Regions from separate parts of the Homo sapiens genome. Here region 2 is linked to region 1. Evidence: promoter capture Hi-C in 16 types of primary human blood cells and fetal thymus (Javierre and others, 2016). All regions are on one chromosome and are shown on one strand. Each heading gives the region's core, a stretch centred on a gene start or on the middle of the fragment in contact. The rest is flanking DNA. Distances are from core to core; before and after follow the strand shown.

Region 1 (4,802 bases), core at 1,325-3,824:
AACCCAGTTAACAGTTTCAAGCAAGAACACAATAAAGGTAAACTAATGAGGAGAATCATTTCTGACCTCTTGAAAGTACATCTCAATAAATAACATCAATCCTTCTGACTGAATTTTTTTTTTTTTTTTCTGAGACAGGGTCTCACTTTGTGGCCAGGGCTGGAGTGCAGTGGCTTGATCACCGCTCACTACAGCCTTGACCGCCTTGGTTTAAGCGATCCTCCGGCCACAGCCTCCCAAGTAGCTGGGACTACACGTATACACCACCACACCCAGCTACTTTTTGTAGAGACAGGGTTTTGCTGTGTTGCCCAGTCTGGTCTCCAACTCCTGAGCTCAAGCAATCTGCCCACCTCGTCCTCCCAAAGTGCTGTGATTACAAGCATCAGCCATGTACCTGGACCTTAAAAGATTCAGTAGCTAACAAACACATATTTGTGAAAAAATCAATCTTAATTGATCACTGACAATATGAAAAAAAAAGGGAAGCAGACAGAATATGTTAAAACATCAGATGATAGTAAATAGGTTATAAATCTCACCATTTTTAAAAATCTGGATTATTTCTTACCTCCCTAGAAATGGAGACTGGGATGGGAACTGATTATAGATGTTTTGAACAAATATTTGCCACCTACCATCTTAGGCAATTCAGGTATACAGACTGAGCATTCCCAATCCAAAAATCTGAAATCTGACATGCTCCAAAACCCAAAACCTTAAAGTGCAGACATGATGTCACAAGTGGAAAATTCCACACCTGACTCCATGTGACTTGTCAAAAACACAGTCAAAACCTTGTTTCATGCAAAAAAAAATTATTTAAAGTATTCCATAAAATTAACTTCAGGCTATGCATATAAGGTATATGTGAAATATAAATCAATTTCATGTTTAGACTTGGTCCCACCCCCAAAATATCTCATTATGTATATGCAAATATCCCAAAATCCAAAATCCAAGACGCTTCTGGTCTCAAGCATTTTGGATAAGGAATTATTAACCTGTACCACATCCCATTAGTGAGAATATGGTTTAGAAGGGCAGGTAAGAAATATAAATAAGCTCATTATAAAATAAAGCGATTAGGCGATTAGAGCCAAGTACAAAGGGTAAGAGTAATACAATACCCTTGTATTTCCTTTACTTTCAGGGACTTATGGCAGAACTTACGAAGAATATCACATAGAGAATAGGTACTATCTAAAAGTACACACTTAGGAAAGATTCTTAAAAGCCAGCTTTATTTTCACTGTAACAGTAATCTTATTCTGGGAAGCGGTGGCTGTCATTAAACCAATTAGGCCTTTGTTAACACACTGAGCCCTAAAAACAAAAAAAACAGCTCTCACGAACCAGTTGGTCCAGCCTTTATACAAGCTAAAAATTATGGGGTGGGGGCCGGGCGCGGTGGCTCACGCCTGTAATCCCAGCATTTTGGGAGGCCGCGGCAGGTGGATCACGAGGTCAGGAGTTTAAGACCAGCCTGGCCAAGATGGTGAAACCTGGTCTCTCTAAAAATACAAAAAAATTACTCGGGCGCGATGGCGGACGCCTGTAATCCCAGCTACTCGGGAGGCTGAGGCAGAAAATTGCTTGAACAGGGAGACGGAGGTTGCTGTCAGCCGAGATCGCGCCACTGCACTCCAGCCTGGGAGTGCAGACTCCGTCTCAAAAAATAAAAATAAAAAAAAAAATAGGGTGGGGCAGCTGCTACGGCTGTGAGGTAACTGATAACTGCATTTAATATCTCCCTCCTTTTTTTCAATGGTTGTGTTTTTAGAACTGATTAAAAGATGAAATGTAGAATGAAGTCTACACCCATTTAATACTCCCCATTCAGGTCTCAGATCAAATGTTACCACCCTATCTAAAGTTGTTCTTGGCACAACACCTTTTCTTTCCTTGATGGCATTTAACATTATCCGAAATCATTTTATTAACGTGCTGGTTAATTGTCTGCCTCCATCAGACAGAACGTGGACCTGACGTGTCGTGTGCACAGCTCTAGTCCTAAGCTCTTAGAACAGTGCCTGACACATAACAGGCGCTCAGGAAACATTAATAAAACGAAGACAGGTGGAATGCCGTTCTCCACCCCGCTGCACAAATCTCTCCTCCTACCCCCTTATAAACTGAGTTCCCACAGCGCTGCTATTGCAATTAACTGGCTACGCTCGGGATGCAACCCCGGGTTTCCTTCCTGTTCTATCCCCTGGCTTGGATGTCGGTGCCAGGCACGCTGTAGGCACTCGATGGCAGATCGCTGAATGAATGACACGGCAAGCCGGGCACAAGCAGTGGCACCGCTGCGATGCCGGTTCCGAGGCTACCACAGCCCAGCCGGACCGCCACCATCATCGGCCTTCCCGCGTAAACCCCGGCCTCCCGGAGCCAAAACCTTCAGGAAGGCATGAATGTCGCCACATTGCCCTTTTGGAGGGAGGCCCTGCCTCCGAGAAGAGGCGTAGGGCCCAACGTATAGGGCCGCCACTCACTGTAGGTGCGGCCCAGGGCTTGGAAGAGCAGATCACGCTTCACGCTGACAGTCGGCATGGTGTGTCGAACTCACTGCGCCTGCGCAGCGAGCTGACCCGGGCTTCCCTAGCGAAGCGCGTAGGACCCGCCTCTTCTTGTGCGTGTTGTCTTGAATATCGCCATTCTGCTGGCAACAGTTCCTGTTCTCTTTTTAACCTAAAAACACTCATCATGCCATTACCTCGCTGATTAAATGTATCTTTATGAGACTAATAGCTTAAAAGCCTGTAAGAAAGATATAATTTGATAGAACTGGCTAGGATTTGTCAGGCATTGTAATGTACTGACCCTGAAGTCCCGGATGCTTCCAGGGCGCTAACGGCCGGGGACGCCCACCAGGTGGGCGGGGCGAGAGTGGGGCGCGTCAGGGAGGGGGTGGGGCCTCCACGTGGGAGATCTTGCCTGGAGGTGGTGGAAATGCGAGTGGAGAGGGTTCAAGGCTTCCTGCAGAGAAAGGTGTGCAAATCCTGGCGGCGGGAGAGGGGCTGTTAACAGACCTCAGTTTTTACTTCATTCTTTAATCTCTCCTCTACTCGTATAAGTGATATACCTGTGCTTTGTTTGAACTTTACGGCAGCCCTATAAGGGAGGCATTGTAAGAGACCTCTTTTTTTGTCTATTTGCTCAGTGCTCTCTGCTGTCAGTGGGCTGTGCTCAGCCCTCTGCCAGCATTAAATTTCCTCCTTAAAACAACCCTGAGTGTAATAGGCTGAATAACGGCCCCCAATAATATCAGACCCTAATCCCTGCAACCTCTAAATGTAACTTTATATGGAAACAGCGTCTTTGCAGGTTAAGTTAAGGATTTTGAGATGAAGATTATCCTGGATTCGAAAGACGAACACTAAATGGAATCACAGTATCCTCATCAAATCATAAAAGGGAGGTTGAGAGAGACGATTTAGCCACGGTGGCAGAGATTGGAGTATGGCAGCCACAACCCAAGGATGCCAGCAGCCACCAGAAACAAAGAGACAAGCACACACTGGGGGTGAGGGGGTGGAGGAGCGGGGAGCATCAAGAATAGCTAATAGATGCTGGGCTTAATACTTAGGTGATGGGATGATCTGGGCAGCAAACCACCATGGCATACATTTACCTATGTAACAAACCTTCACATCCTGCACATGTATCCCTGAAATAAACAGAGACAAGGACAGATTCACGCCCAGCCCATGGGGCAGCCCTATAATGCATGCTGATTTGGGCCCAGTGAAACTGATTTTGGGTTTCTGGCCTCCAGAACTGTGAGAGCATAAATTTATGGTTTAAGTCAGCAAGTTCGTGGTAATTTGTTTCAGCAGCCAAGGGAAACTAATACATCAAGATAGGTACCATTATCCCTGTTTTACAGGTAATGAAACTAAGGCACAAACTGGCAGTTCCAGGGGGAGCCTTGCCCTAATCCTTTCTACTGTACAGTGAGTGAGGGCTTCTTCCAAAGTCCTTCACATGAGGGGAGAAAAGCTGAGCCAGATGTAAGCCACCCTAACTATTAATCAAGCAGTTTTTCACTATACAGTATTAGCTCCCCTCCATGGGAAGGCAGTCCCTTCCCAGTGACCAACATAACAGATTGGCAACACCCCATAAATGGCAAACATCCCCAATGCAAAATACAGCTTTCCACCTAAAATTGGTGCTTTCTGCTCAATTAATAAGCAAAGGACTAGTGCCAGGCATGATGGCTCACACTTGTAATACCAACACTTTGGGAGGCTGAAGTGGGCAGATCACTTGAGGTCAAGAGTTGGAAACCAGCCTGGCCAACATGATAAAACCCCATCTCTACTAAAATTACAAAAATTAGCTGGGTGTGGTGGTGGGCACTTGTAATCCCAGCTACTGGGGAGGCTGAGGACTGAGAATCACTTTAACCCAGGAGGCAGAGGTTGCAGTGAGCCAAGATCACGCCACTGCACTCCAGCCTGGGTGACAGAGCAAGACTCTGTCTTAAAAGCAATAACAACAACAACAACAAAATAGTAATAATAAATAACCAAAGGACTTCCTGCTGACCTGCTCTGCTTTGGGCACTCCAAAGTGTTCTGTGGCCTCTGAACCTCAGTTTCCTCATCCATAAAATAGGGATAATAATATACACCTTAAAGAATTATTGTGTCCCATATCTGTAATTCCAGCACTTTGGGAGGCCGAGGTGGGAGGATTACTTGAGCCCAGGATTTCAAAACCAGCGTGGGCAACAGAGTTGGACCCCATCTCTAAACAAAAAGAAAAATTAGCCAGGCATGGCGGCAACACAC
Region 2 (3,566 bases), core at 1,067-3,566, 6.2 Mb before region 1:
TGAACATTGTCATGATACTGTGCAGGTCCATTAGTGGGGCTGAATCTACTGAACGTTGATTTGCACTGCAAGTTTTGATAAAAATAGGTGAAGGGGTCAGTTAGTTCAAAACTGTATTTGGAACTTGAGGCCATCAGGACCACCACAGTTTCGTCTTTCTGAACAGTATTAGACTGCTGCAGGTTTGTGAATCTGCAACTCAGTATCACCTGACAGGGCGATACTACAAACACTATACTACAAACTAGCATCTAGACCTGTGTTGTCCAATACACTAAGCACATATATGGCTAGTGTAATTAAAGAATTGGATTTTAAAGTTTCAGTCAATTTAAACTTAAACCGAAGCAGTGGAAAATGTTGAAATATATATATATTCCTTGTGGGGGTTTTTATTAGGGCAGAATGGAAAATGGGAACTAGAGTGCTTTCTTGGTTCTGATAGGAAAGTGAATTATTTATATACTTACAATACAGGATGGTGATTTTCAGGTATAGTTCCTGAATTTTATGGTAAAACTTTTGTAGTCATTTCAATAGCTGTCTTTCCCAAAGGCACTTTAGTGTCCGCTCTTATTTCCTTAATCATTGTTCTCACTGTATCATCTTGTAATTTATTCATTTCTTGTAATCTGTCCATTCCCTTTTAATAAGTTTAGGTCAGCCTCTTAGAACCATTTCTTTTTCATGGGATGGGGTAGGGGGAGTTAAAGCTTGCTTGTCCACAACTGAGTTACTTATAAAAAAAAAAGCAACTCTGGTTGAGAAATCAGATGCATGAGATTGTATGTCTAATTCTGCAAGATCCTGAAGGCATGGCTCTTAAAGGATGCCATCATGTAGTTTAGAAGCCACTAATTTCCGAGGAGTAATCTAATGTTGGTTAGATCTTTGGATTGACTGCAGCAAAGTATTGGTAGAGCAGTCTATCTCAGTATAATTCTTTCTAGGAAAATTTGGGAAGCGACTTTAACACAAAAACGAGGCAGATTTACTTATTTGCCATTTTCTATGTTAACATGCTTAATTATGTTGGAAACTGAATCTTTCTTTCCAGTACCACTTCCGCTGTCACGGTAAAGTCCGCCATCAGAAGACTGAAGGAGTTGAAAGACCAGTAGACGCTCCTCTACTCTTTGAGACATCACTGGCCTATAATAAATGGGTTAATTTATGTAACAAAATTGCCTTGGCTTGTTAACTTTATTAGACATTCTGATGTTTGCATTGTGTAAATACTGTTGTATTGGAAAAGCATGCCAAGATGGATTATTGTAATTCAGTGTCTTTTTTAGTAGTCAAATGGTAAAATGCAGCATAAGAATATAAGTCTTCCAAGTTAGATATGAGTGTTAGCTTTTTATAAGTCTGCTCCTGCCAGTTTGACTTTGAGATACATTGGAGCCAACTGTAAACTTTAGTTTTTAAATTACAGTTAGTTTTTTTGTTTGTTTTTGAGGCGGAGTCTCTGTTACCCAGGCTGGAGTGCAGTATACCAGTCTTGGCCCACTTCAACCTCCACTTCTTAGGTTCAAGCGATTCTCCTGCCTCAGCCTCCTGAGTAGCTGGGATTACAGGCACGCACCACCATACCTGGCTAATTTTTGTATTTTGAGTAGAGATGGAGTTTTCACCACATTGGCCAGGCTGTTCTTGAACTGACCTCAAGCGATCCACCTGCCTTGGCCTTCCAGAGTGCTGGGATTACAGGTGTGAGCCACCACGCCCAGCCTTGCATTTAATATTTTTATAATGTGTCTAGGCTGGGTGCGGTGACTCACGCCTGAAATCCCAGCACTTTGGGTGGCTGAGGCAGGTGGATTACTTGAGGCCAGGAGATTGAGACCAGTGTGGCCAACATAGCAAAAACCCGTCTCGACGAAAAATACAAAAAATAGCTTGGTATGGTGGCACATGCCTGTAATCCCAGCTACTTTGGAGGCTCAGGCACAAGAATCACTTGAACCTACGAGGCGGAGGTTGCAGTGGGCCAGGATCGTGCCACTGCACTTTATTTAGCCAGGACAACACTCTGTCTCCAAAAAAAAGTTTCTGAAGGTAAAAGATATACTAAAGGATATACATATACTGCCTCTTCTATGATGTTTCATTTGACCTACACCATCAGCATCTTCAGGAAACAGTATGAAACTAATTTCACATTAAATGTTGCAAACGTCTGCAATTCTCCAGTTTTTAGTTTGCACGTAAGGATTCGTAGGATTGATTTCAGATTGACAGATGGTTGTAGTAACAAAAAAATGAATTGCCTTGGAGAATTCGAGTTATTTTAGGCCTGCCTTTGACACTTTTATGCACTTAATTCACTGCCAATTTAGTCTAACTCCTCAACCATCTGTGGTATGGACTTCTCAGTCCTCCTAATTGGTATGTCTTTTATCTATCCCAGAGTCAGTAGTCCTTTAAGGATGCAAATTTAATTCGATAAGAATGTGGATTTACTTCATCTTTAGGACAGAGTAAAAACCTTTATTTCACTTGGTCTGACCCCTATCTTCTATAACTTGTTTTTTTGCTCATTACTGGCCTTTGCACGGATGTCTCCCTTCACCTGTACCTCCTGCATTGCCTCTGGCAGAAACATCGCTACCCCAGGAGAATACTTCACTGGGTCAGGCATTTGCTAGATCCATAGCAGTAACTCATCTGTGGATCTCATTTGTGTCACAAAATGGTACTCCTACTGATTTTGTAATGTGAAGCAAGTACTGTGGGTCAGTAGGGGTAGGACCAGGAGTGACAAGTCAGGATTTTCAGGCTTCATAGGAATGACACAGCTCTCCAGGTGAATCTCCTGGAGAATTCTCCATAGGATCTCCAGGTGAGTGACCAGGATTTCATGTAAGCATAGGGAATTGAATGAGCATTAGATGGTCTAATGCTGCGGTTAAGAACACCAACTTAGCCAAACTGCCTAGATAGTTGGGTGACTTGGGTTAAGTGACTTAACCTCTCTGCTTCAGTTTCCTGTATAATTCTTGGTAGTAGAATGGAGTATATGCTGGGTGTTTGGATTATTAATTTGGAGTCTTACAAAGCTGCTATGTTACATGATTAGGCATGGAAAACTTCGGTTTTTATAATCAGTGAAGTACTGCTTTTTGTTTGTTTTCTGAGAGAGTGTCTGTCACCCAGGCTGAAGTGCAGTGGCATGATCTCAGTTCACTGCAGCCTCTACCTCCCGGGTTCAAGCAGTTCTCGTGCCTCAGCCTCCGAAGTAGCTGGGATTACAGGCTTATGCCACAAAGCTCAGCTAGTTTTTGTATTTTTTATTTTTAGTAGAGATGGGCTTTCGCCATGTTGACCAGGCTGGTCTCAAACTCCCAGGCTCAACTGATAACGTCTGCCTTGGCCTCCCAAAGTGCTGGGATTCTGTAAGCCACCTCACCCAGCCATGTATTGCTTTTTTATGACAGTTAAAAGAGGAAAGGGCGGGGGACAGTTTACAGACCAGTGAAAGTGCTGAGATAAATATTTTTATACCTAAGGAAATAGTGATTTTCCCAAGATGATAGGGAGGCAGGTGATGTAGATAGGGCTGAAGA

The links. The method cuts DNA at HindIII sites, captures the fragments that hold promoters and counts their contacts. A CHiCAGO score of 5 or more calls a contact.
Region 2: a fragment that was not itself captured here is called in contact with the fragment with the promoter of FARSB in region 1 in 1 of 17 cell types (total CD4 T cells); the score reaches 7.1 in total CD4 T cells.

What each region holds. Positions count from the first base shown.
Region 1 is chr2:222,653,518-222,658,319 of GRCh38, forward strand. FARSB (phenylalanyl-tRNA synthetase subunit beta) reads right to left here and starts at 2,575. Exons shown (of 17, transcript NM_005687.5): 1 at 2,499-2,575. The coding sequence starts at 2,556. It overlaps LOC124907985 (a long non-coding RNA gene), which reads left to right and starts at 2,916. Exons shown (of 2, transcript XR_007088095.1): 1 at 2,916-2,994. RefSeq lists an enhancer at 2,636-2,685 and a silencer at 2,802-2,998. The HindIII fragment of the contact is 12,443 bases long and covers 1-4,802 here.
Region 2 is chr2:216,500,284-216,503,849 of GRCh38, forward strand. RPL37A (ribosomal protein L37a) reads left to right here. Exons shown (of 4, transcript NM_000998.5): 4 at 1,058-3,566. The coding sequence ends at 1,121. Among named protein-coding and RNA genes, the nearest start is that of RPL37A, 3.2 kb to the left of the region's middle. The HindIII fragment of the contact is 3,211 bases long and covers 712-3,566 here.